Linked DNA regions of Homo sapiens: regions 1, 2 and 3 are each linked to region 4. The links are contacts of gene promoters, found by promoter capture Hi-C in blood cells and fetal thymus (Javierre and others, 2016). All regions are on one chromosome and are shown on one strand. The core of a region is centred on a gene start or on the middle of the fragment in contact, and the rest is flanking DNA. Distances in the headings are between cores, read along the strand shown.

Region 1 (6,980 bases), core at 4,083-6,582, 200 kb before region 4:
GGAGACCAGAGTTTTATTACTCAGTCAGCCTCCCTGAAAATTCAGAGACAAGGGTTTCTCAAGGATAGTTTGGTGGGTAGGGGGACAGAGTTTTATTACTCAAATCAGCCTCCCTGAAAATTGAGAGACAAGGGTTTCTCAAGGAATGTTTGCTGGGTAGGGGGACAGGGATTGGGGAGTGCTGATTGGTTGGGTCAGAGATGAAATCATAAGAAGTCAAAGCTGTTCTCTTGTGCTGAGTTGGTTCCTTGTGGGGAGCGGTGGGGACAGGACTGGTTGGCAAGTCCAGGCGGAGCCACTGATCATCAGAAATGCAAAAACCAGAAAAGACATCTCAAAAGGCCAATCAGATTCTACAATAGTGATGTTATTTACAGGAGTAATTGGGGAAATTCCACATCTTGTGACATCTGCAATAATGACTAGGAAGCGTTTCACTATGCCCACACCTTAGTAGAATTCAGACCCCTCTCATCCTCCTAATGCAATGGCCTTTCATTAGCGTTACAAGGGCAATTTAGTTTGGGGGCTATTATCATTTAAATTATGAACTAAATTTCTCACAAAGTTAGCTTGGCCCATGCCCAGGAATGAGCAAAGACAGCCAGCCTGTGAGGCCAGCAGCAAGATGGAGTCAGCCATGCCAGATTTCTCTGCAGTCATAATATGGCAAAGGCTATTTCAGAGGGAAAAGAAGTATAGGATGAGAGCAAATACAGGTGGATTTATAGGTTCGAGATGGGAATTTTTATTTGGTGGCTTCTATTTCCCTGTAAAAGTGAAAGAAAGAAAGAGAAAGGAAGAGACAAAGCCGGGTGCATTGTTTCACACCTATAATCCCAGCACTTTGGGAGGCTGAAGAGGGAGGATTGCTTGAGCCCAGGAGTTTGAGACCAGCCTGGTCAATATAGTGAGACCTTGTCTCTACACAAAATTTTAAAATTTGCTGTGTGTGGTGGTGCTTGCCTGTGGTCCTAGCTATCTGGGAGGCCAAGATGTAAGGAACACTTGAGTCTGGGAGGCAAAGGTTGCAGTGAGCTGAGATCACACCACTGCACTCCAGGCTAGGCCACAGAGCAAGACCTTGTCTCTAAGTAAAAAAAGAAAGAGACAAGGTCATCTGCAAGTGGAGGTTTGAAGGAAGGGCCAGGGGCTTGGGGAGATCGACAGGGGTTTGAAATAATCGCTGTGGGAAAGTAAGTTAATCAGACACTTATCGGGGTTCCCCAGGTGTAGTGAGGGTACCTCTGGATGTAGTAATCATGAATTTATGTAGAACCAGTATGCCCTGTTGTGTGACTTTCCCAGAGGCTGCCTGAGAGCAGGCACAGTAATAGGTAGTTGGGTCCATACACAGTTGGGATTTTGCCAGATAGGATAAAAAAATGACAAAGGATCCAGATTAGGGCTTGACCAACATTGTTAGAGACATGGACTCTAAGCATGATAAAGGAGGAAGGAAGGGAGAGAGACAGCTGATGGTATGGGGATAAGTAGAGACAGCCACAGATCAGAGGTGCTGATGATGGTGAACAGGTGCAGTGGGGGTACCCGCACAGGCCAGCCATGGGGAAAGGAGCAGCAGTCAGAGAAGAGGAGAGTGAATAATCAGTGATTTGGAAGTGGAAAGTCTCAACTTCCAATAGTGCCAAAGCCCAAACTGTGACTGTGGAAGTGGGTGGCTTAGTGACAGTAGAGGTGATCTTTAGGGAAGAGGGAGTCAAGAAGCTGAGAGCCCAGTTGGACTGTTGACAATTTCACCCAAACCAGGGGTGAATTGACCTAGGATGACAGCAGCACACAGGTGAGGAGGAAGTGGTGAGACTGATGCAGAGATCTTTGAAGAAGGAGGGACCTGGAGGTCGGTGGATGACAGAGGCTTTCAGGAAGGGAAGAGGGTGGCATAGCTGTATGGTTGAGGCTCAGAAAAAGCCTAAGGGAAATGGAAAGCAAAGAAGACAATGACCTTACTGCCCAGCTTTTAAGCTGTGGCACGGAGAAAATGACAACCACCACTGTAGGAGGGCTACAGAAGACACAGTGTGTGCTGGGGTATGATTTTATTTATCTATGGCTGCAGAACAAATTACTACAGATTCAGAGGCTTAAAACAACACACACTTAGTATCTCACAGGGTCTGTGAGTCAGTCTCAGCATGGCTTAGCTGGGCTGTCTGCTCAGGATCGCAGGAGACTATAATCAGGGTGTTGGCCACAGTGCCATCTGGAAGCTCCACTAGAAGAATCTGCTTCCAGCTCACTCGGGATGCAGGAGAATTCGTTTCCTGATTCCTCACTGGCTGTCTGCTGGAAGCTGCCCTCAGTTCTTAGCCACGTGAGCCTTTCCAATGTGCTGCTCATTTCACTGAGCCAGCAAAAAGTCTCCAGAACAAGTCTGTTAGCAAGACAGTCTCATAATATCACTCCATCACAGTGTGACATCCAACCCCGCTGCATATTCTGTTCATTAGAAGCAAGTGACAGGTGCACATGTACTCAAGGAGAGGGCATTACACAGAGGTGTGAGCACCAGGAGCCAGGGATCATGGTGGCCTCTTAGGGTGTGTCCTCTTCAGAAGGTGCGAGGATATAGGACGTTTGCTGGTTACGTCAGGGCAGCATGGTGGAGGAAGTGGGATGTGGGGAAGGTAGGAGCTGAGTCAGGACAAGAAAGGCTGAGCACTTGAGATGAGGGTGTGCTGGGTGACAAGGAGAGGGGCTTGGACTTTGGGGACAAGCTGATGGAGATAGAGTTATCTGCTTTTCTCCATTGCATGCACTATGAAAAAGAAATCTGCTTATTTATAAAAACCCATGTGTGGCTGAGCGTGGTGGCTCACGTCTGTAATCCCAGCACTTTGGGAGGCCGAGACAGGTGGATCACCTGAGGTCAGGATTTCGAGACCAGCCTGGCCAACATGGTGAAACCCCATCTCTACTAAAAATACAAAAAAATTAGCCAGCCATGGTGGCAGGAGCCTGTAATCCCAGCTATTCGGGAGGCTGAGGCAGGAGAATTGCTTGAACCTGGGAGGCGAAGGTTGTGGTGAGCCGAGATCGCGCCATTGCACTCCAGCCTGGGTGACAGAGCAAGACTGTCTCAAAAAAAAAAAAAAGAATAAAAATTGTTAAAAAGGTTAACTTTGTTAGATGCATGTTAATTATATTTCCTCCGGAAGCTCTCTGAAGAGCAGGTCGCAGAGACCGTCTGAGAGGAGCCCTGAAGATAACAGGGAGAAACAATGAGAAAATGACATCCCCGATCTCCAGTACCAAACGCAGGGAAGAGTCAGAAGGCGTGATTGCTCCTGGACAGCAGGAACCCATGCCGATGGTTTGAAATTGAAATCAAAGTCTCATGAATTCAATAGAGTTGGGTGAAATGAAATTGTGTGACTGTCAATAAATGACCAGAGGATGATGGTTGATAAGACACACAAGGAGTATAAAAGTGAAGATGGCACATTTGAAGCCCTTGCCAGGGTGTCTGGGATCTAAGTAGGTATACATCCATTTATGACATTAAAAAGTTCATTAATGTTTTAATTGGAATACACATATGGGGGGAAGGAGGTAGAAAAAAATATATATATATAGTTGTTTTTATAAAAGAAGAATAAGCTGGAAGTTTAAAAGGGGAGAAAAAAATGAAAACCTTTTATAACAGGGTGTATTTTTTTAAAGGACTTAGAGTTGGAGTTGAATTGGACACATCAGCACGAACTCATTTCCCAGCTCCCACTGGAGTGCACTAGAAGCAGACGCCTGCCTTTAGTTCTCACACGGATAATGTGATTCGCACCATGAGCGCCCAGACATAACATTCAACTGATAACATTTGCCACTCAAAGAAACAGGGCTCCTTGGGGAATAGCTGATTCCATACCTTGGTGCAAGAAAAATCAGAGTTGGCCTGAGCAGACTTTGCTAGAAGTATGTAAGTTAAAAAACAAAAATGTTTAAGGTAGTGTTAAAAGGAAAAAGGACGCAGCATAAAAAGTCAAAGCTGGGCCGGGTGCGGTGGCTCACACCTGTAATCCCAGCACTTTTGGGAGGCCAAGGCGGGCGGATCACGAGGTCAGGAGATCGAAACCATCCTGGCTAACACGGTGAAACCCCATCTCTACTAAAAGTACAAAAAAATTAGCCGGGTGTGGTGGCGGGCGCCTGTAGTCCCAGCTACTCGGGAGGCTGAGGCAGGAGAATGGCGTGAACCCAGGAGGCAGAGCTTGCAGTGAGCCGAGATGGCGCCACTGCACTCCAGCCTGGGCGACAGTGCAAGACTCCGTCTCAAAAAAAAAAAAAAAAAAAGAAAGAAAAAAAGTCAAAGCCAGCCAGGCACGGTGGCTCATGCCTGTGATCCCCACTCTTTGGGAGGCTGAGGCAGGAGAGTCACTGGAGGCCAGGAATTCAAGACCAGCCTGGACAACATAACGAGACCCCACATCTACAAAAAATAAAAAAATTAGCTGGGTGTGGTGGCGCGTACCTGTAGTCCCAGCTACTTGGGAAGCCGAAGTGGAAGGATCCCTTGAGCCCAGGTGTTCAAGGCTGCAGTGACATTGTCTCTAAAAAGAAAAGAAAAGAAAGGAAAAAAAGGCAAAACTGTGATCATCTGATTATCAAAAAGAAAACAAAAATGTAGTGAAAAGCTTGAGTCCATAATGGTACTGGATATGGGTTATACTAAAAGTATATGTGAGCTCCTGAAAATGTCAACTGGTTTTTGGTTGTTTTTGTTTTGCCAAAGCCAATTGTTCTGAAGTGTCCACTTTTAAAACACTGTGCATACCATAGCCAAGTTTTGATTCATAATTAAGCTATGAATTTCTTGTACTTTTTTTTTTTTCTTTTGAGACAGAGTCTGGCTCTGTCGCCCAAGTTGGAGTGCAGTGGCGCGATCTCGGCTCACTGCAAGCTCCGCCTCCCAGGTTCACGCCATTCTCCTGCCTCAGCCTCCCGAGTAGCTGGGACTACAGGCGCCCGCCACCACGCCCGGATAATTTTTTGTATTTTTAGTAGAGACGGGGTTTCACCGTGTTAGCCAGGATGGTCTCGATCTCCTGACCTCGTGATCCGCCCGCCTTGGCCTCCCAAAGTGCTGGGATTACAGGCGTGAGCCACCGCTCCCAGCCCGAATTTCTTGTACTTATGTATTTATATCAGGTAATGAGATTTAAAGGACACTCAGGGATGAAAGATGCACTGAGTTATTTAAAAACAAAAAACAAAACAAAACAAAACAGTGAGAGTTCTATGAATCTTGTTAATTCGGCAGGAAAAACTTGACCAAAGGAAGCCACCCACACTGATAATTGCCAGCCTGGGAGAAATGACTGTAGAAGGCACATCCAGGCCCCACTCCCAGACCCAGTGCCCAGGCTCCAAGCATCTCTCCATACTGGAACAGCACGGCAGCTCCAAATCTGGAACTCATACCCCGATCTGTAACCGTACCTCAGACCTACATCTTCAACTGATTTCAGCCCAACTGTGAGGCTAATTCTGCTTTCTTTCTTTGGATAGAGGCTTAAAAATAAATATAAAGAAGATGATGGACACGAACGTACATTAATACTCTTGTAATACCTTTAAGGAGTAACTACTTTAATAGCTTTAGGTAATAACTACTGCAAACACTGGGATGATTTGGGTTTTATCTGCTTTTAGTTGAGGTAAAATTCACGTAACAAAATTAACCACTAATGACTTTAAAGTATAGAATTTTAAAATCTGCTTTTTAAAGTGTTGGAAAAGTGTAAAAGCATGTGACATTAAACTTGTGATATTAGTTTAGTATTTAGGTAGATTAAGTTTGGTGGTTAAATGCTTAAATAAATCTAATTGGGTCTATAAATTGAGGCTATGTTTTGTGAATAGTGTTTAAATTATTAGTGCTACATGCTTAGTGTCTAAGATTTTGTTAGATTTGTATATCTGCCTTGTTAGATGTTTGAATATTAATATTAATATAGTTTAAACAGCCTAAGCTAATTTAATTAATCAAGCTTATAAGTAATATTTAATGTTTAGAGAATTTATAAGCTAATCAGGCATTAATCAAAGAACAAGTGATAGAAATACTAGATTTATGAGCAAAGTAACATAAAAATACTAGATTTATGAGCAAAGTAATAAATTGTATGAGTTGAACTTAACAAAACTAGTCTTGAAAATGTACAACTTTGGGTGCAGTGGCTCATGCTTGTGGTCCCACCATTTTGGGAGGCTGAGGCAGGAGCATCACATGGGACCAGGAGTTGAAGGCTGCAATGAGCCATGATTATACCACTGTGCTCCAGTTTGGGTGACAGAGCGAGACTCTGTCCCCCCAAAACAAAGTAAAACAAATAAAAATGAAAATAACAATAAAATGTACACCTTCAATAAACTGGAAACATAAGTAAAATACACAAATAAATTTGTTCCTCTCCACGCATAAAAGCTTCCCTCAGGCATTAAAAACTCAACTGACCATGACTTAGTAGCTTATAAACTAACACAAAAGTATAGAAAGAGATTTATTTGTTGAAATTTTGACAGTTAAAAATATTACAAGTCAAATTAAAAGGAAGCACCTCTTTCAAATTTAATTTTCTTTCATTCATTTTTATTGGTGTTTTGTTTGTAAAGAGAAAAGTCACTAATTTTTACAAACGGTGATGAATATGCTGCTCAAATGCATACCTTTCCATGGAAGGAAGTCTCTGTATCCCACTCATATCCCTACTCCATCTCCATGGGGGAGAGGAGTTATCATGGATTGACCATGGCTTTGGGGTGATCAATCTGTACCTGGTCAAAAAGTCTAGCTCTGTTGTTTCTCAAACTTCAGGAACCCCCTGAGGATTTTGACTGGGAAGGGCTGGAGTGGGTGGGGTGAGGTTTGCACGTGCAGTGGGCTCCCAGATGACGCACTGGCACTCTTCCGGGGACCACGCTCTGAAGCCCAGAAAGTAGGTGCTGTTCACAAGTGAGCA
Region 2 (7,025 bases), core at 105-2,604, 170 kb after region 4:
CCCCAGATTCAGATCTTCCCACAGCTAAACCAGAAAGGGGGGACTGCGTAGTCACTGGTGTGCACGGGCACATGGTGTGGGTGCATATACACGGGCAGGACATATGCACACAGACAACCCACCACACACACACGCGTCGCACACACTCGGAGACTCTCTCGCGCATGCTCCTCTCTCCCAAACCCACCTGTACACCCAGCATAAAAAGGAACCCAACTCTATCACCCACATGTGCAAGACCACATCAAGTGCATTGCCAGTTACCTTTCCATTAGATAACCGAACCAAACCAGAACAAAAATAGGTTACTACCTAAGGAAATGATAACAAATTATTGGGCATACACAATGGTTGGTAAAACTCTCCTGCAGCGGCTTCTATTGAACCTCCGTGGAAAAAGGAAACCACAACCGTTTAAATAATACAAGAAAACCAAACCCGATGTACATTGGCAAAAGTGAAAACAGAAAGGTGAGGGGGCTACAGGACTTTGTAAACACTCTTCTTCCTCCCCTCCCGCTGGGAAAGCAAAATAAAACATTTAAAAAAAACCAAAACCGAAAAGAAACTGCAACATGCTGTCAAGAAAAGTGTCAAACCACAAAACAAAAGAGCGCTCAGCGGAAGCTCAGCACCACCTGGTTGGGCGGAGCCGGCGGCGCAGCTCCTCCCTCGCGCTGCCTGCGGGCCGGCGGCTGGCCGGGAGCTCGGCGTGGCCCGTGCCGGTCGGGGGATCCCGTCGCAGGTGGGCAGGGACGGAGTGAGCCGCACCACTGCCGGCCCGACGCCCATCCCCAGAGCTCCGCGCCCCTGGAGGCCTCCTCCTCCCTCTCCGGGCCGGGTTGGGGTCCTCCTGGAAGTCCTGCCCCGCTCCCTTCTCCAAATCCGCAGGGCCCTGGCTCTAGGGAGACAGCGAGGCTCGTACAGAATATGTGCAAATGGTTTCTACAAGCAGAGTCGAAAGACACCCGTTTGCTGTAGGGTCCTTTTGGTGAGGGCGCGCGGGAAGCCGGGGTGCTCTCCCCGCGGAGGCGCGGCCGGGCCCGGGGCCTGCGAGCTGGGAGAGGGCAGGCGCCTTCCTCGCGCCCCGGGACCCTCGCCGCCTCCTCTCCCCGCCTCTGCAGACGCAGCCGGGCGCCTTCCTCCCGGAGGGCGGCTCGCGCACCCAGGCTCCGCGTCTGGTCCCAACAGAAATGAATGAAGACGCTGTTCCGGTTAACTCCAGGTCACGAGAACAGTGAGGCACTTCTGAAACGAACCCATTAGGAACATTGAAACAAATAAAAAAAAGCCCGCATCTGGCAGCGCCCACTACAGGCTGCTGACGTAGACCCTGCTGTCCTGGAGCTCCTCCTCACTCGGTCGACCCCGCGCGCGCACACAGCCCGCGTCCTCTTCGCCCCCGGCTCGGTCCTGCCCCGCGTCCCTGCAGTTCACAAAGGGTAAGAGGGCGCCATTGGGGCTCTGTGGGGCGCCCCCGCTGAGGATGTTGTCGGCCGCGCTCTCCATCTCCTCTATGGTCATGTCGCAGGCGTCGGCCAGCTCCTGGGTGGTGACCTCGATGAACTTGGGATCTTGAGCAAACTGCCCCAGTCCTTCTGAAATCAAGACCTGAAGGAGCGGGGTGGGAGCCATGAAGAACCAAAGGAACATTACTCCTGGAGCCCAGCTCTTCCCTTGAGGGCTAGAGCGAGGGGGTATCTGGTAGGTCACTTGGGGAAGTGTGCGTGTGTGCACGTGTACGTGTGTGTGTTGGGAGGGGCACCCATGGGGAACAAGTGGAGATGGAGCATCTGCCAGAATTAGGGATGTGCAGGCCAGAGAAGTTTTGGCTGGGGTGGTCAAACACTGTCATCAAATATATGAAGACTTGCTTATGGCCCAGCACGGTGGCTCACACCTGTCACCCAGCACTTTGGGAAGCCCAGGCAGAAGGACTGCTTGAGCCCAGGAGTTCGAGACCAGGCCCAGGCAACACAGGGAAACTTCGTCTCTACAAAAAATTTAAGAATAATTAGCTGGGTGTGGTGATGCACACCTGTGATCTTAGCAAGGCCAGAGACTGAGGTGGGAGGATCATTTGACCCCAGCAGCGCCAGGCTGCACTGAGCTGTGATTGTACCACTACACTCCAGCCTGGGTGACAGAGCGAGACCCTGTCTCAAAAAACAACCAAAACAAAAACCAGAGAAGGTTTGGCTCTCAGAGGGGCCGGGGGGTTGCCCTGATGCTGTATCAGCAGATCCCAGCCTGCCTCTCTCCTTTCTGACACCCACTGAACCTTTATACTATTCTTTCAGAGAAACCATTCTCCCTGGTGAAACTGCTGAGACAGGCCCACTGCCCATTGCCTGCTGCTGCCTTTCCAGGGGTGAGGTATCTGTGCAAACACGGCGCATGCCCCTGCCTTGCTTCTGCTGGGAAGGGCCAGCAGGTGACCCTTAAGCTTCTCTGTCCTCCCTACCGGCTGCTTAGTGCCTGGCTATGGGAAAATCGGCTCCTGAGCCAGCGGGTCGGGGGAAGCTGAGTGCAGCCTGGCACTCGCTCCTTTCAGGCATCTGTTTGTCTTGCTCCTTGCCCACGCCACTCATTCTCTCCTTGCCCTGCTTAGTTTTTCTTTGGCACTCCTGACCTTCCTGATGTGTTATATATGTATGTGTTTATTATCTGTCTCTCCTCACCATGATGTGAGCTCATGAGAGCAGAAGCTCTGTTTCTCAGCTGTGTCCCTGTACCTAGAACAGGGCCTGCACATGGTAGGCGCTCAGGGAAGGTCTGTGAAATGAATGCAGGATGATCGAGGCCACAGGAATACCAGACTTTGAGAGGTAAACCTTGGAAGCCACCTGGTTTAACGCCCCACCTCCTGCACCACAGCCTGACGCCCGGATGAGCACAGTCTCTGCTTGGCTATGTCTGATGATGGGGGGCTCACTACCTTTCAGGCAAGCCCCTCTCATCTTGGAAGAGCTCATTTGGGAAGGTCTTCCCCATGTGAGCTGAAATCTGTCCGCTGGTGGGCTGAGCCTGCCACCCTTTCCCCATCCCACCCGTTGCAGGTGTGAGAGGTGTATCGCACCCTCCAAAGTCACCTCCTCTCCAGGTTTTCTTCCCGAATTCCCTGAAACGGTTCTCCTAGGAAATGGTTTCTAGGAACCTTGCCATCCTGGTCATCCTCTGTTGGGTTTGTTCCAGTGTGTCAAAGGTCCCTAATAATGTGGTGCCGGGATTGCACTAGATGCTCTGACCAGGCAGAGCACAGTGGGACTGAAAGCTCGCTTGTTCTAGGCTAGTGGCTCTCAACCTTGCTACACGTTAAAATCATCGAAGAGCTTTAACAATCATCAGTTAATCTGTCCCGGGTTTCCAAAGCTCCCCAGGTGATGCTCACGGGCAGTCAGGCCTGAGCACCTTGGATCTTGCCTGTCTGTGTATAAAGGCAGCCAGGCTCACATTTGCATGTCGAGCAGCTGCAGTATAAGGGATAAGTTGCTCAGTGGTTTCTGCCGCCCTCTGCAGTGGGCCCAGCCTCAAGAGAGCCCATAGCATCTTGTGCAGTCATGGCTTTCCGCACACGAGCCCTCCTGCAGCCCTGAGAGGGAGGGTCTTTCGGGCTCAGATATTGACTGCAATGAATTTGGCAAGAGCCAGGTGCTCCCTTCTCAGCCCCGCATGCCAAGTCCCCTTGTTGCCCGTGGCCTCTCCCCCCTGCCCATCTGCGAGTCACCTACCGCTTCCACCAGGCTGCTGGCACTGCCGTGGAACTGCCTCCCTGGGGCCCCAGCCTGGCTGGGCACCATGAGGGAGACGGGCCGGACTCTCCGGGCGGCGCTGCTGCCCCCGCCACCGGGGGTGGTCTCAGCCCAGGAGCCGCAGTGGATGGATGGGAAGCTGCTGTTGAGTTTCTCACTGGACTCGACCCCCTCAAGCCGCAGGGTGGGGACGGGCTGTGGGGGCCAGCCTCGGCTGCCAGGTGTGGCTGGTGGGGTGGCAAAAGGCCTAGGGAATGAGGCAGGGGAATGGCTTCTCTGGAGGAGGGGGCTCAGGCCTGCCACTGCCAATGCCTGCGGACACACAAGGAGTGTGAGTTAATAGGAGTGGCCGACCCCAAACAAGGCAGGCCCCTGCTTCTGAGCAAGCACTGCTTTGCAGCTGCTGTGTCCAGCTAGCTCCACCTGCCTGGTATTCCCATGCCATTATTTTCCCCTGTCGGTCCTATCTCAACCTGGCATGACTTTCAACTATCTCAAAATACATCTTAGGATCATCTGGGTCTGAAGTGATCTCTTTCTCCTGTAACTTCTGAAAGCTGGGATTGGGTGAAGTCGTGGTAACCTGCTTTTAGCCCTGGCCTGGTCACCTGTCAGCTGTGCATTCTCTCGCTCTTGGTTTTGTCCTCAATAGAATGGAGAGCAGGGTGAGGCCTGCATGTCTGTAAAGCCAGAAAACGAATGCTGTCTATCCATCTGCCCTGTGGGGCTGGTGTGAGGCTCAAGCGCAATGAGGTCTGTGAAGAAGCGCTGTGCACCTCACAAAGAGTTGGGAAAACCAGTATTTGTGGTTTTAGTTCTCACAGTTAATGGGGCCATTCATAATGCCCTGCCAGTCTCTAGCTCAGGTTGTCTTTGAGCCATTGTTAAATCCGGTGCTGTATTGTGATTAAAAGATTCAGGGCTGGGAGCAGTGGCTCATGCCTGTAATCCCAGGACTTTGGGAGGCCAAGGCGGGCAGATCACCTGAGGTCGGGAGTTCAAGACCAGCCTGACCAACACGGAGTAACCCAGTCTCTACTACAAATGCAAAATTAGCCAGGCATGGTGGTGCATGCCTGTAATCCCAGCTACTTGGGAGGCTGAGGCAGGAGAATCACTTGAACCCGGGAGGTGGAGGTTGTGGTGAGCCGAGATCGTGCCATTGCACTCCAGCCTGGGCAACAAGAGCAAAACTCTGTCTCAAAAAAAAAAAAAAAAAAGTCACACGGTACGCCCTCTGTCCCTGAATATTCTTGAGCATCCTGAGGGTAGGGACCAGGCCTGTCTGGCTGTTGCCATGACAACCTGCCAGGGCAGAGGCTCTGCAGGGTGAGCTGCTCTGATGGGATGTGCTCCCGGGAGAGAGCGACACTGTGGTGGGGAAAGACCACCTCTAGGGTCACAGAGTACAGGAGGAGAAAGAGATGAAGAGGAGAGTTTCGTGCCTACCAGTACGACAAGAACAGATAGGTGAAATCGACTTCTAGAAATCTTTTAAGATAGCACACACAGTGTCCCCACATCCTTCCACCTCCTGCCCCTGCCCATGGTGGTCCTCAGCCTGGGGCTCCTGGGTCCCTGGGAATCTGAGAAAAGTGTAAGGCCATATTCATTATTTCAGAAAGCCCAGTGGAAGACAACACCACACAGGCTAAGAAAACCTGTTTATTTTTTGGAGCTGAAGTACTATCAACTCAGCCAGGCCACACTGGCCATCTCATGCTGATTATGACTTTTGATTGGCAGTTGAATGCCTTTGGGTACAAAGCATAGGTCTATTTAAAACATAGGTCCATGCTATAAAAGAGTATAACTTTAATAAGGTCAGAATGTTGGGAAACCCAGGTTTAGACCTCAGTTTGCCTGGGGTTAATAGACTGGCCTTAGATAACACTGAAGTTCAAAGATACTAAGGCATGTTTGGTCCTGGCATCTTGGATTTCACTGTCTCAGCTGGAGTCAGCCATGCCAAGAGACATTTCATTTATGGAATCTCCCTGGACCTGCTTCCCACGGATGTCATTCCCTACTCTTGACCATGTTGCTGGTGGGTTCTTTAATCACTTCTTTATGTCACTGGATGGATTTTTGTGTGGCAAAATTTCCAGGTATATTCAAACTCTAGGTACAAGTACATCTTCCTGAGTGCCCTGAGGCATAGGCCAGTGTCAGAGGCGTCAGTGGCATCTGTGGCAGCCTAAGAAGAAAGCTCAGGTGGAACCTGCAGCTGTGGGTCCTCAGGATCACACAAAGAGCTCCTGTGCACCAGCACTTCCTAGGCCCCCACCTGCGATGCTGCAGACCTTGCCGTGGCCCTCACCTGCACAGGAGTGTGAAGCCCTACAGGGATGGCTCTTAGGGCAGGGGCAGGACGTGCCAGCCATCTGAGACAGGCAAGACCCACTGAAGTCTTCAGGATTTGTCCGTCACCCTGGGGACTGTCTGGCCTGCTGGCAGGTGACAGTGGCCTGTCCAAAAGTGTGAGCTACCTGATGATGAACCAGATGCAAGGGCAGGACTGTCTTCTGAGAGATGTCTCCCCCTCGGTCCTTCTGTCGCTTCAGACATTCCAGGTGGAAGGAGGCCCTTCGACCTGCAAAGCCAGCCAGAGAGCCACCATCAGGGCAGGAAAACAGGGCACTGGCCTGTGACAGTTTACACCCTGGTGGGGTGCCAGGAGCAGTAACTATGGCCCGAGACGCTCCTCCTTTCCCCTCCCCTCGTCTGAGACGTATTCTGGTGTCCAGGGCTCATCCCTGCACACCCTGCCTTTGGAATGTTGTCTCCTTGCTTTGGAAATGCCCCACTGTGTGGGGCTGATTTGAGGCAGGCCACAACGATTTCCCAATCATCCCTGACCAGTGTTCTCTAGGGAGTAACCGCCGACCACATCCAGAGAGCGAGCGGTGCATTTACCTAGTGAGGCAGAGCGGAGGAAACCCCTCTTCGGAGATTGCCGGATGTCCCTCTTGTCCTCCTCTGGGAGCGTCAGTTGCCGATTTTCGTCATCCTGGTAGGAGAGCCTGGAACAGAGAGCTCATGGGGCTTGTTCCTGGAGGCTGAGAAGTGGCCACCCACAGGGACAGCTGCACCCCCGGAAAGCACTTTGCTCTGATCCTTAGTGAAGGGACGCACACTTTGTGCTTACATGCAGGTTTGGGGAATTGCCACCCCAAGAAGTTCTGGCCTGCCCCTGACGTCTTCCAGGCCTGCTCAGTGGGAATGGCCAGCTCCTCACCCGCAGCCTGTCTCATAAGCCTGCAGTTCTGACTT
Region 3 (6,609 bases), core at 2,550-5,049, 170 kb before region 4:
GGGAGCCAGGACTGAGAAAACAGCCAGGCAGGAAAAGAAAGGCTCCGGGAGAGGCGACACCGTTTCCTTGCCTGAGCAGTTTTCCTTCCTAACTGTGTGTGGCCAAGTTCACACCAGCTGATGGAGGGGGAAGGCGGGACCAGGCCAGGGAGCAGAAGACAGGAGCTTCCCGATGCGGGGGGAGCCGGGGCAGCCTGTGAGGACCCACGATTGACGCAAAGTCTCATTGTCAGCAAACACGAATATGTACCTTTCCCCGTCACATATGTGTCTTCCTCTGGTGCCTCTGCCCGCCCCACACATGCGGAGGAGGGAGCAGATGACCGCCAAGGTGCCCTGGCCTCCGGCGCTCCCTCATCTCTGATTTCACCTGCCCAGGCCGCTGGCACTCAGAGGGCTCAGGCAAGGGGTGGGGCAAGGGCAGGCCACAGCCCCCCACTCAGTACCAGCCGGCCACATACACGGGGTCTTCAGCGACACAGCCCCTGGCAGGTCCCCAAGATCAAACTGCTGACTATTCACACAAAGAAGCAGAGGCACAGAGAAGCCAATATTTGCCCAGGACACAGTTCTCAAGTGGTAGAACTGAGACTCTGCCCCAGCTGGGGCCAACTGCTGCCCACCGTGCCCTGCCATGACACATCAGAAGGGCCTTGCTGGGGGGCACACCACAGCCCCCTGTCCAGCGGCTCCTGTCCCAGGACCCCGAGACTCGCGCTGGATCCTCCCATCCAGAGTGCGAGCTCCTGGAAGCCGAGGGCCGCGCTGGGTCCGTACAGCACACGGCTGGAGCACACGGTCCACAAGGGAACCTGCTGAATCCCATGTCTTTGGCACCAGCTGTCCCAACCCTCTCTTCTCCCATCAACCCCCACCTCCAAACTCCCCTAAGAGTCAGAAAGAAAGAGAGGACACAGGCCACTACCAAGTTTGGAAAAGTACCTTCTAGGTCCTCCTTCCTTCCTGGCAACCTTAGTCTCCACGCAGGGCCACTGCCCTATTTTCTGGAAGGGATATCTGAGGTCGAGAACGCCCAAGAAGCCCAAGGGGCTGGCTCTACATTGACTGCACAGAGCTAAGTCTGCTCTCCCCACGCTGCCACTGCCTGCTGTTCCTCAGGGGGCTGGGGATCTGTTTTAGACAATTCAGAGCCTTCTCCAGTGGGAGCAGGAGAAGCTCCAGGATGCTGCATGGAGGGCAGCCAGTGACTTCGCAAGGAGGACTGTTTAGTATGGTGGCTCCAAGCACACACCCTGGGGTCAGGCTGCTCAGGTATGGACCCGTGGTCTGGTATGGGTCTGGTACTATGAACTGGGCAACCTTTGGCAGGTGATTCTACCTGTCTGTACCTCAGTTTCCCCTCTGCAGATGAGGTTATCCAGTCTTGGCTGTGGTGAGGATGAGACGTGTGACTGTATGTAACGTGGTGAGAAGAGTGCAGCTGTCATCTCTCTCAGTCTATCTGGGCCCATCTATCTCACAGCATGTATCCAACAGGAGTGCCCACAGGACAGAGGTCACCCTGGCTGGGGGACTCAGGGCCAGGCCCTGCTTACTCCATGCCTCAGTTTCCCCTACTTGTGAAACAAGAGACCTAGGATGGTCCTTATCTGGAGGGTGGCTAGAAGAACACAGAATATCACCAATAGCTAAAGGCAGGAGCTAGTGCAAGAGGGTCCCGGACATGCCACCTCCCGCTCCAAGGCAGTGTTCCCATGAGTGCTTCCTGCCACTGCCAACTGGGTCTCCGCTCTGACCCCAACTGTATCCCCAGGGTCCTGAGCCATGCCGGGAAAGAGCCACAGATCAGCTCGCCTAAGCTCCTTCCGCTGAGTCAGGGCTGAGCCTGGACAGGCCGGGGGCGGTGAGTGCTCAAGCAAGGGTGAAGGCTTCTCCAGGGGGCTGGGGGCCCCCTCAGACTCACAGCAGGGTTGGGAAGCGCCACTGCCAGCTGTACAGGTTCCAATTCCCACAACCGGGGCTGGACGGGAGACTGGGAGATGATTTAAGCCCCTCCTGAGAAAAAGTGGACAGCATCCTGCCTCCCACGCCACACCCTGAAGCCAGCCTCTCGGCCGAGGTCCTCAGGAGGCACATGCGTCTTGCCTGGTCTCCACTGCAGGAGTCTCACACCTGCTTCCAGTCTGGGTGCCAGAGTTAACCAACTAAGCACAACCCTGGCCACGTCCTGCCCTGTTCGAAAACCTTAAATGACTCCTCATCGCTTAAGGAGAAGGGCTAACAAATATTTCCCTGGCTACGCACGTGGCCATGACCGTCCACCCAGCACTCCTCCCTGCTAGAGCCTTCTCAGCCCAGCACTCCAAACAGCGACTGCCGACCCCTTCGAAGTGGCACACAGGTCACCCCATCATCCTGGACACCTGGCTAAAGGTGGGAGACTGACTACCCCAGTTTATTTTTTCCCCTTCCAGAGACCCAGCTAGAAGGACAACAGCAAGTAACTTTAAACAATATGCAGCACCACAAAGATAAAGAAAACAAAGAGACCAGCTGACAAGAGAGCTGGGCAAGCTTTGGAGACTCAAAGCTGATTAGGACCACACTGGATTCCACGGGGTAGAGAAAGCAAAAAGAGTCACAACCTACCAATATCTTCAGGGGTGACAGATAAGAAGCTGAGCTGCGTGGCTCGGAGCTGGAGGGAACAGGATTTGTCCCCAGGAACTGACAAAAAGTCTGTACACTGGACAGTCCAGCCCCCAGGCCCACCCCTCCCATGCATCGGTAGAAGATCAAAGGGTCAGCCGGGTATGGTGGCTCCTGCCCGTAATCCCATTACTTTGGGAGGCTGAGGCAGGAGAATGGCTTAAGCCCAGGAGTTTAAAACCAGTCTGGGCAACATAGCAAGACCCTGTCTCTATGAAATTAAAAATTAAAAAACACACCAACAAACAAAAAAACTTTTTAAAGAGGACCAAAGGGTGACCATCTTCAGAAATTAAACAGGAGGGCAACAGGTCTCAGGGACACAGGGCTTATTCAAAAGAGAGGGAAGAGGGGGAGTAAGAACAGGAGAGTTAAGTGAAAGCCAGCATCAGAAATGGTCAGGGCCCCTACCCCCGACCCTTTATCCCACTACCAGAACACTTGTGACCAAGTATGTCCCTTCCAGGGAAATTAGATGAATCGTCTCTGGAGAAACTAAATCACCTCAGGGGGAAAAAAAAGTCCAGTAAACACACATATTTATTGATTTCCCCAATAAAACAGCTAGCTCCCCAAGCCCAATCACCCTAAAGCGAAACCCACCAGGTGACAAGTCCTACCTTGCACGAAGAGCTCCCAGTCACTACTAAATATAACCAGAACAAATAACAAAAGGAAAACTTGATAAACTGGACATCATCAACACTAGAAACGTTTGTGCATCAAAGGACACTACTAGGAATGTGAAAAGGGGCCAGGCACAGTGGCTCACACCTGTAATCCCAGCACTTTGGAAGGCTGAGGCAGGAGGATCACTTGAGGCCAGGAGTTCAAGACCAGCCTGGGCAACATAGTGACACCCTCTATAAAAAATTTAAATAAAAATAAAAACTTGGGCCGGGCGCGGTGGCTCACGCCTGTAATCCCAGCACTTTGGGAGGCCGAGGCTGGTGGATCACGAGGTCAGGAGATCGAGACCATCCTGGCTAACACAGTGAAACCCCGTCTCTACTAAAAATACAAAAAAATTAGCTGGGCGTGGTGGCGGGCGCCTGAAGTCCCAGCTACCTGGGAGGCTGAGGCACAAGAATGGCGTGAACCCGGGAGGCGGAGCTTGCAGTGAGCCGAGATCATGCCACTGCACTCCGGCCTGGGTGACAGAGTGAGACTTCATCTCAAAAAAAAAAAAAAAAAAAAAATTGGCCAGGCGTAGTAGTGCATGCCTCTAGTCCCAGCTACTCAAGAAGTTGAGGCGGGAGGATCACTTGAGCCCAAGTTCAAGGTTGCAGTGAGCAATAATCATGCCAGTGCACTCCAGCCTGGAAGACACAGCAAGACCCTGTCTCTGAAGAAAAAAAGAAAAAAGAATGTGAAAAGACATTCAACAGAATGGGAAATAATAATTACAAATCATATAACTGATAAGGAACTTTCATCCAGAACTAAGAACTCATAATTCAATAATAAAAAATAACCCAATTTATTATAAAAATGGGCAATGGGGTTGGGGACAGCGGCTCACACGTGTAATCCCAGCACTTTGGGAGGTTGAGGCAGGCGAATCGCTTGAGCTCAGGAGTTCAAGACCAGCCTGGACAACATGGTAAAACCCCGCCTTTACCAAAAATACAAAAATGAGCTGGGCATGGTGGTGCGTGCCTGTAATTCCAGCTACTCAGAAGGCTGAGGTACGAGAATCAGTTGAACCTGGGAGGCAGAGGTTGCAGTGAGCCAAAATTACGCCGCTGTACTCCAGCCTAGGTGACAGAGAAAGACTGTCTCAAAAAAAAAAGGGCAATGGACCTAAATTTCTGAATTGGCATTTCTACAAAGAAGATATACGAATGGCCAGTAAGCACATGAAAAGATGCTTACCATCATCAGTCATCAGGGAAATGCAGATAAAAACCACAATGAGATACCACTTCACATTTGCTAGGATGGCTACAATCAGAGAATATCAAGTGTTGGTGAGGATGTGGAGAAAATAGGATCCTCATACCCTCATACCCTGCAGGTGGGAACAGAAAACGGTGCAGCCACTTCGGAAGACTCTTGGGAGTGCCTCAGAAAGTGAAAGAGAGTTGCCATATGACCCAGTAATTCCAGACATAAGCATATGGAAATGAAAATGAACGTCCACACAAACACTGGTACGTAATGTTCACAGTAGCACTACTCCTAACAGCCAAGAGGAGACAACCCAAATGCCCATGAACTGATGAATGGATAAACAATGTGGACTCTCCGTACATTTGGCCATAAAAAGGAACGTACGTGCTACAACATGGTTGAACCTTGAAAACACTATGCCAAGTTCAAGAAGCCAGTCACAAAAGACCACATCCTCCACAAACCCTTTTATACAAAATGTCCAGAATAGGCAAAGCTTCAAAGACAGAAAGTAGATTATTGCACAGGGCTGGGGGGTAGGAGTGGGGAGTGACAGCTAAAGGGAACAGGGCTTATTTTCGGGATGATGAAAATGTTCTAAAATTGATTGTGGTGATGGTTGCACAACTTTGTGAATATACTTAAAAACTCGGAATTGTATACTTTATTTTTTGAGATGGGATCTTGCTCTGTCACCCAGGCTGCAGTGCAGTGGTGTGATCTCAGCTTACTACAACCTCTGCCTCCCAGGCTCAAGCGATCTTCCCATCTCAGCCACCTGAGTAGCTTGGATTACAGGCACGCACCACCATGCCTGGCTAATTTTGGTATTTTTAGGAGAGATGGGGTTTTGCCATGTTGGCCAAGCTGGTCCCCAACTCATGGACTCAAGCAATCCACCCGCCTCGTCCTCCCAAAGTGTAGGGGTTACTGGCACATGCCATCACGCCTGACTAATTTTTGTATTATTTTTGTGGAGACAGGTTTTTGTCATGTGCCCAGGCTGGTCTCAAACTCCTGAGCTCAAGCAATCTGTCTGCTTCGGCCTCCCAAACTGCTGGGATTAAGATGTGAGCCACTGTGCGTGGCCTGTATGTTTTAAGTAGGTGAACTGTAAGGTAAGTTAATTACATTGCAAGAAAGCTGTTAAAAAAATACAGACAGGCAGCTAAGAACTAAAGACACCAAAGAAAACCCTCCAGCTGGAAAGACAAGGACCAAAACAAACAGAAAAACGGAATTAAAAAGAAACAAAGACAAAGAAAGGAGCAGGAGGCTGGGTGTGGTGGCTCACGCCTGTAAATCTATCACTTGAGGTCAGGAGTTCGAGACCAGCCTGGCCAACATAGCGAAACCCCTCTCTCTACTAAAAATACAAAAATTAGCCAAGCGTGGTAGCGGGCACCTGTAATCCCAGCTACTTGGGAGGCTGAGGCAGGAGAATTGCTTGAATAGGGAGGCGGAGGTTGCAGTGAGCCGAGATCACACCACTGCACTCCAACCTGGGCAACACAGCAAAACTTAGTCTGGGCGTGGGTTGGGGGAGGGTTAGGAGCAGGAGAAAACTTAAGAAGTAACACTTACTTCATACCTTTAAGAAAAAGAGGAGAAAAACTACATCCATCAAACATCTTGATGCAATCACAGAACAAGAAGGAGCTCTGGAAAATTAAAATGTCAGAGCCGAAATTAAATATTCAACAGAAGGTGTGGCAGAGATGCTGCTGTATTCCACTCATCTAATTCACCCTTAACTGTAGGATGCACACTTTATAAACTACCCAGAAAAAACAAAATGTCATCAACTGAACTAAGATACATCCATAAAAGGATGTATGCAGCTTCTTCTACAGTATTACAGCTCTGATTTTATTCAGAACAGCAACTTACCCAACTAAAAAAGTACCTTTCCCGGGTTCCTTACGGCAAGATGCAGCCACACAACTAATTATGGGGCTTCCCAGCAGGCCCCTTACAGGGAGCTAAACTGGCTTCTTTTGATGGTTGGAAGATGGCTACAGTGGCTGGAACTCCAGCAGTCATGAC
Region 4 (7,191 bases), core at 724-3,223:
TACAAACCTCCCAGGGTGCCTCTGACCCCTTGCCTGACCCCCTGGGGCTGATGGATCTCAGCACCACTCCCTTGCAAAGTGCTCCCCCCCTTGAATCACCGCAAAGGCTCCTCAGTTCAGAACCCTTAGACCTCATCTCCGTCCCCTTTGGCAACTCTTCTCCCTCAGATATAGACGTCCCCAAGCCAGGCTCCCCGGAGCCACAGGTTTCTGGCCTTGCAGCCAATCGTTCTCTGACAGAAGGCCTGGTCCTGGACACAATGAATGACAGCCTCAGCAAGATCCTGCTGGACATCAGCTTTCCTGGCCTGGACGAGGACCCACTGGGCCCTGACAACATCAACTGGTCCCAGTTTATTCCTGAGCTACAGTAGAGCCCTGCCCTTGCCCCTGTGCTCAAGCTGTCCACCATCCCGGGCACTCCAAGGCTCAGTGCACCCCAAGCCTCTGAGTGAGGACAGCAGGCAGGGACTGTTCTGCTCCTCATAGCTCCCTGCTGCCTGATTATGCAAAAGTAGCAGTCACACCCTAGCCACTGCTGGGACCTTGTGTTCCCCAAGAGTATCTGATTCCTCTGCTGTCCCTGCCAGGAGCTGAAGGGTGGGAACAACAAAGGCAATGGTGAAAAGAGATTAGGAACCCCCCAGCCTGTTTCCATTCTCTGCCCAGCAGTCTCTTACCTTCCCTGATCTTTGCAGGGTGGTCCGTGTAAATAGTATAAATTCTCCAAATTATCCTCTAATTATAAATGTAAGCTTATTTCCTTAGATCATTATCCAGAGACTGCCAGAAGGTGGGTAGGATGACCTGGGGTTTCAATTGACTTCTGTTCCTTGCTTTTAGTTTTGATAGAAGGGAAGACCTGCAGTGCACGGTTTCTTCCAGGCTGAGGTACCTGGATCTTGGGTTCTTCACTGCAGGGACCCAGACAAGTGGATCTGCTTGCCAGAGTCCTTTTTGCCCCTCCCTGCCACCTCCCCGTGTTTCCAAGTCAGCTTTCCTGCAAGAAGAAATCCTGGTTAAAAAAGTCTTTTGTATTGGGTCAGGAGTTGAATTTGGGGTGGGAGGATGGATGCAACTGAAGCAGAGTGTGGGTGCCCAGATGTGCGCTATTAGATGTTTCTCTGATAATGTCCCCAATCATACCAGGGAGACTGGCATTGACGAGAACTCAGGTGGAGGCTTGAGAAGGCCGAAAGGGCCCCTGACCTGCCTGGCTTCCTTAGCTTGCCCCTCAGCTTTGCAAAGAGCCACCCTAGGCCCCAGCTGACCGCATGGGTGTGAGCCAGCTTGAGAACACTAACTACTCAATAAAAGCGAAGGTGGACATGCTGGGCTCTGTGGTTTATTGGCGTCTGATTCCTAAGGCACCAGGAGAGGCTGGAAAAGAAAGAGGGTGTTGATGGAGACGATGGTGATAGGGAAGAGGCAAGGCCTGAAGTTCACCCAAAGCAGCAGTTGGAGCACTTGCACAGGCACACACTTGACAACACAAATTGCCAGTTTTCCCAGTGCTAGTCCTGCACAGCTCACCTCTTTTCCCTGGCGTCTCTGACCTTGTTCCTTGGGACCTTTGGACCTGCTGGTTAACTTAGGCCTTTTGAGGGTTCTTAATAAGACAAGCTCACGAGGGGTAGGGCCCCCTGAACATTAGGGCAGGAAGGGCCCAGTTACAGGTGCTTCATTCCCACTGCCATCCCCACCCTGAGGCCTGGGAGCCAGCCTGCCCTGCTTTTCTTCTGCCCGGCAGCAGCTCCTGTTACAGTTTTTTGCAGTCAGAACTTGAAGAAAGTGCTATCCCCTGCCTGTCTAACCTGAAAAGTAGCCAGGGGCCCAAGGGTCACAAGAGGCTCCAGGGACAGGTGAGGGCCTCTTCTCTGCATCACCACTCAAGCAGCATCACCATAGCAACCCCAGGAGTAAACAATGGTGCCAGAAAGGGCTTCCCCACAAAGCCGCCCCTCCTGGCTCTGAGGCCCAGAAGAATGGCCAGTAACCGGCAAAGATCACTCAGAGGGCCCAGTCACCCATCTCATATGGAAGAACCTTTCCTGCAGGTAGGGGGTGGCCCATCTCTGCCGCCTACCTTTTTGTACCCCACTGGGCTACAGGCTGTCCCTTATAGTGGGCCAGGCTTTCTTCTGGGCAGCAGACTGCCTGGCCCATACATTTTCTGCTGTCTTCCCCTTTTCATCCTATGACACTAGGAACCCAGAGCTCAGAACAGAGAGGAGATGCCTGGCTAGTGCCACATCTCCCAGCCCCACCCACTGGGGTGATCCTGTAGAAATGACTTAGGGGCCCAAGCTCAAGAAACAGGTGGGTTTTTGCAATCAGAAAAGTCCTGGGGGCCAGGCACAGTGGCTCACGCCTGCAATCCCAGCACTTCGGGAGGTCGAGGGGAACGGTTCACCTGAGGTTAGGAGTTTGAGACCAGCTTGGCCAACATGATGAAACCGTCTCTACTAAAAATACCAAATTAGCCAGGCATGGTGGCACGCGCCTGTAATCCCAGCTACTCAGGAGGCTGAGGCAGGAGAATCACTTGAACCCGGGAGGTGGAGGTTGCAGTGAGCCGAGATTGCACCATTGCACCTCCAGCCTGGGTAACAAGAGTGAAACTCCATCTAAAAAAAGAAAACATCCCTGGGGATGGATAGGAGGGCGAAGCATTTTAAAAGAGGCACATTTTTGTTGCAGTCAGGCACTGTGCTAAGTAAGGCCATTTCATTTCACCCAGCATGGTATGCCAAGCAAGAGCACAGACAGAGGGCTTAAGTCCCAGCTGTCACTCAGGCACCAGCACCCTGTGTGAGTCACCTACCCTTACTGTGTGTTGCTTTCTGCATCTTTGAGATGGGGACGATAGCAATACTTGCTCATAGAGTTGTGGGGGTTCAATAAGATCCATGTAAGTATTTAGCACAGCATCAATATGTACTTGCTGCTGTTTATTTAATGGGGGGCAGGGTGCAGAAAGGGGAAGGAGCTGCCATTCTAGATGCTTTCTATACTAGCGTTTTAATGAGGAGTGGGAGGAAAGCGTCAGTGACGGACAAATGAGTATTGAGAGGAGTCTGGGATGGGAAAACCCCTGGCCCTATTTTCTGGAGGACTTTCCTGGTATACCGCCAAGACCAGGAGCAAGTGAAGGTGGGCTGCCCCCCTTGGCATGGTAGGGAGCATTTCCCTTCATGATTTCCTGAGGCCTGATGTGCCCTCTAAGGAGCACCAGTTCCTGGGTGGGAATGTGGGGATGCCAGAACGGAGGAGGGAGGTGAAGGTAAAGAGTGAAAGCTGAGTACAGAGGGTGGGAAGTCAAAGCCAAAATATGGTCAATGGCAAGAGATCAAAAGATGAGTGACTGTGAAGATGATACGCAGCAGCCATAACTTCCGCCGGGAAGGAGAGGGATGGAGATGCGGCCCTGCCAGGACTTCTGCGTCCTCATGAGAATCCTGGGCTGGCAGAGGTCGTGCCTGGGAAGGAGAGCGGAGTGCCTCACCCACCTTTCTGCACCCCTGTCTGCACAACCTTCCCCAGGCTCCCTTTTGTCTCTCCCTAGATGGTCCAGGCCAGCGAGTCCCTCCCACCCTCCCAAACGTGGGCTCAGCGTGAGTTCTTCCTCCCCAGCGAGTCCTGGGAGTTCCCTGGCTTCACCCGGCAAGCCTACCACCAGCTGGCTCTGAAGCTGCCGCCCTGCACAGATATGAAGTCCAAGGTGCGTCAGCGGCTCATCCACCCTTGGAAGGGTGGCGCCCAGCACACCTGGGGCTTTCACACGTGGCTCGATGTGTGCCGTCTGCCTGCCACCTTCCCCACCCAGCCTGACAGGCCCTACGATAGCAATGTCTGGCGCTGGCTGACCGACTCCAATGCCCACAGATGCCCCCCCACGGAGCACCCCATCCCCCCTCCCTCCTGGATGGGGCAAAACAGCTTCCTGACCTTCATCCACTGTTATCCCACGTTTGTGGACATGAAAAGGAAGAAGCAGGTGATTTTCAGGACAGTGAAGGAGTTGAAGGAGGTGGAGAAGCTCAAGTTGAGGAGTGAGGCAAGAGCACCCCCACTCGATGCCCAGGGCAACATCCAGCCGCCAGCGAGCTTCAAGAAGTAAGACGGTGCCTCCTCAGGGAGCCCACCCAGCCTGCCCTGCCCAGGTGACCCCTCCCTCTCTCAGGTTCCTGTTTCTAACCGGGACTCTGTCCTTCCCCGCTCTGGCCATCTGAAAACCAAACTCTTTTCTGAGTGTAGCTGGAAGGACGAGGTGGAGACAAGGGAGGAACAGCGAGTGGAGGCAGGGAGTTTCACTAAAATCTGGGGGACAGCTATGCAGGTGACACCTGGTAGGCACTGGGGACACAGAGAAGTGTGACTCAGTGCCTGCCCTCAAGGAGCTTTGCAAAGATAGCTATCAAAAAAAGGCTACACATGCAAAGGGCCCAGAGTGCGAGACAGGGGGTGTTGTAAGGAAGTCAGTTATTAATGTAAAGAACTGGAGTGAAAGCTGTAGCCCGAAGGCCTGGAGTACAGTTCCAACCCCATCACCATGGTGAGGTGCCCAGCTTCTCCAGCCTCAGCTCCCTCACCGATGAAGGGGGGAGCCTCAGGTACCGACCTCACTGTGGGAGGATAAATTGAGCTAGTGAATATGTGGAAGAACTGAACAAAAGTTAGATGTTATGGCAGGGCGTGGTGGCTCACGCCTGTAATCCCAGAACTTTAGGAGGCCGAGGCGGCCGGATCACCTGAGGTAGGGAGTTCCAGACCAGCCTGACCAACATGGAGAAAGCCCATCTCTACTAAAAATACAAAATTAGCCGGGTGTGGTGATGGGTGCCTGCAATCCCAGCTACTCAGGAGACTGAGGCAGGAGAATCACTTGAACCTGGGAGGCGGAGGTTGCAGTGAGCCAAGATGGTGCCATTGCACTCCAGCCGGGGCAACAAGAGAGAAACTCCATCTCTAAATAAATAAATTAATTAAATAAAAGTTAGATGTCGTTACAGAAATTCAGGAGAGAAGGGGTGCAGCGACCTGGAGTGTCCCCGCCACAGGAAGGCCTCATGGGGAAGTCAGGGTTCAGGCTGGAAGGGTGGAAAGCCAGCAGACAGCTAAAAGCAGTGGCTGAGCCCCTCCAGGCAGGGCTGAGAAGTCGGGAGCGGAGCCAGGAACGTTGAGAGGAGCCGCTGTGAACCCCGCAGCTCCCCCTCCCGGCCACCCTGGGAACTCACGGATGCTTCCCAACTGTGTCCAGCCCAGGCACTACGCATGCAAGAGTAACAAGAAAGGGGGAAGGCAATGAAAAGGAATGTCTCAAATTCCAATCCCAAGGGCAGGACCAAAGCACTGGGGAGTTGGAGTGGCTGTGAAGATTTTTAATCTGAAAAAAAAACAAAAACAAAAACAAAAACAACAACAACAACAAAAAAAACAGGCCGGGCCTGGTGGCTCACGCCTGTAATCCCAGCACTTTGGGAGGCCAAGGCAGGCAGATCGCCTGAGGTCAGGAGTTCGAGACCAGCCTGGCCAACATGGTGAAACCCCGTCTCTACTAAAAATACAAAAATTAGCTGGGCGTGGTGGCAGGCGCCTGTAATCCCAGCTACTCAGGAGGCTGAGGCAGGGGAATCACTTGAACCCGGGAGGTGGAGGTTGCAGTGAGCCAACACGCCACTGCACTCCAGCCTGGGTGACAAGAGCGAGACTTTGTTTAAAAAAAAAAACAAAAAACCAAAGGTTGGTGACTTTGAGAGATCAGTCTCCTTTGTGGGGACCCAGGCTTCTCCCTGCTTCCCTGCTACCCTTGCCCTGAAGATTGCCAGTTGCTGATAGGTGCTGACCCTGGCAAAGGGGAGAAAGACTTAGAGTACTCCAGAGAGACTCACAGTGGCATGACAGTGCCAGGTGGTGTTCTGCCAAACACTTCTCTGTATTATTTAATCCCCCAGGACCTTCTGAGTAGAAACTATCATTAACCCCGTTTTTTTTTGTTGTTTCTTTTTTTTTGAGGCAGAGTCTTCCTCTGTTGCCCATGCTAGAGTGCAGTGGTGTGATCTTGGCTCACTGCAACCTCCGCCTCCTGGGTTCAAACCATTCTCCCTGCCTCAGCCTCCTGAGTAGCTGGGATTACAGGCTCCCGTCACCATGCCTGGCTAATTTTTGTACTTTTTAGTAGAGACGGGGTTTCTCCATGTTGGCCAGGCTAGTCTTGAACTCCCGACCTCAGGCCCAACTCGGCCTCCCAAAGTGCTGGGATTACAGGCGTGAGCCACCGTGCCCGGCCTCATTAACCCCATTTTACAGGTGGGCTATCTGAGCTGGACAGGTCAAGTATCTTGCCTAGCCGAGTATGATGGTTCATGCCTGTAATCCCAACACTTTGGGAGGCCGAAGTGGGAGGATCGCTTGAGGCCAGTTCAAGACCAGCCTGGGGCACCATATGAGACCCCGTCTCCACAAAAATATCAAAAAATTAGCCAGGCATGGTGGCACATGCCCATAATCCCAGCTACATGGGAGGCTGAAGTGGGAGGACTGTCTGAGCCCAGGAGGTCGAGGCTGCAGTTAGCCATCACTGTGCCACTGCACTCCAGGCTGGGCAACGTGGTGAGACCCTAGCTCAAAAGAAAAAAAAAACAGTTCCCACAGCAGGTGGTTAAGGTGGTTAGAGGGTCAAATGGCACAGGGCCTAGCATACATACAGAAGGGGCTCAATAGATTGTATCATTATTAGTATGGTATCTCCATGACAGTAGGATCCTTGTCTCACATGTTTACTGCTGTAGGCCCAGGCCCTGGAACCAGGAATGAAGGAATGTGTCTCAGACAAGGAATTAGGTCCCCAGAGAAGGCAGGACACATAACAGGAAGTCATGTGCCACAAAACCTTTTGGTCAGTGACAGACCACATATACCACAGCGGTCCCATAAGATTATAATGGAGCTAAAAAAAAAACTCCTGCCTGATGATGTTGAAGTTGTCTTAACATTTTAGCACAATTACCTCATTTTAAAAATAAATTTAGTGGACCGGGAATGGTGGCTCACGCCTGTAATCCCAGCACTTTGGAAGGTTGAGGCGGGCAGATCACTTGAGGTAAGGAGTTCAAGACCAGCCTGGCCAACATGGTGAAACCCTCTCTCTACTACAAATACAAAAATTAGTCAGGCGTGGTGGCACATGCC

Evidence for each region. Contacts are between HindIII fragments. The CHiCAGO score rates a contact against its expected background, and 5 or more counts as called.
Region 1: a contact is called between a fragment that was not itself captured here and the fragment with the promoter of TEX52 in region 4, in 2 of 17 cell types (megakaryocytes and endothelial precursors). The highest score is 6.3, in megakaryocytes.
Region 2: the fragment with the promoter of CACNA1C-AS1 here is called in contact with the fragment with the promoter of TEX52 in region 4 in 3 of 17 cell types (total CD4 T cells, naive CD8 T cells and total CD8 T cells); the score reaches 5.4 in total CD4 T cells.
Region 3: a fragment that was not itself captured here is called in contact with the fragment with the promoter of TEX52 in region 4 in 5 of 17 cell types (megakaryocytes, M2 macrophages, endothelial precursors and 2 more); the score reaches 10.6 in megakaryocytes.

The regions. Positions count from the first base shown.
Region 1 is chr12:3,056,565-3,063,544 of GRCh38, reverse strand. No RefSeq gene overlaps it. Among named protein-coding and RNA genes, the nearest start is that of TSPAN9, 17 kb to the left of the region's middle. The HindIII fragment of the contact is 1,356 bases long and covers 4,655-6,010 here.
Region 2 is chr12:2,685,486-2,692,510 of GRCh38, reverse strand. It overlaps CACNA1C-AS1 (CACNA1C antisense RNA 1), which reads left to right and starts at 1,354. Exons shown (of 4, transcript NR_045725.1): 1 at 1,354-1,442; 2 at 1,532-1,704; 3 at 2,301-2,371. CACNA1C (calcium voltage-gated channel subunit alpha1 C) reads right to left here. Exons shown (of 47, transcript NM_000719.7): 44 at 6,669-6,775; 45 at 6,242-6,345; 46 at 3,732-4,064; 47 at 1-1,611. The coding sequence ends at 1,312. RefSeq lists a silencer at 625-894. The HindIII fragment of the contact is 2,873 bases long and covers 1-2,448 here.
Region 3 is chr12:3,026,494-3,033,102 of GRCh38, reverse strand. The region is part of intron 10 of TEAD4 (TEA domain transcription factor 4); the gene reads right to left. Among named protein-coding and RNA genes, the nearest start is that of TSPAN9, 48 kb to the left of the region's middle. RefSeq lists an enhancer at 377-938. The HindIII fragment of the contact is 2,524 bases long and covers 2,538-5,061 here.
Region 4 is chr12:2,851,821-2,859,011 of GRCh38, reverse strand. It overlaps TEX52 (testis expressed 52), which reads left to right and starts at 1,973. Exons shown (of 3, transcript NM_001365174.2): 1 at 1,973-2,057; 2 at 3,566-4,116. The coding sequence starts at 1,986. It overlaps FOXM1 (forkhead box M1), which reads left to right. Exons shown (of 9, transcript NM_021953.4): 9 at 1-1,332. The coding sequence ends at 374. It also overlaps a transcript of ITFG2 not described here. The HindIII fragment of the contact is 21,263 bases long and covers 758-7,191 here.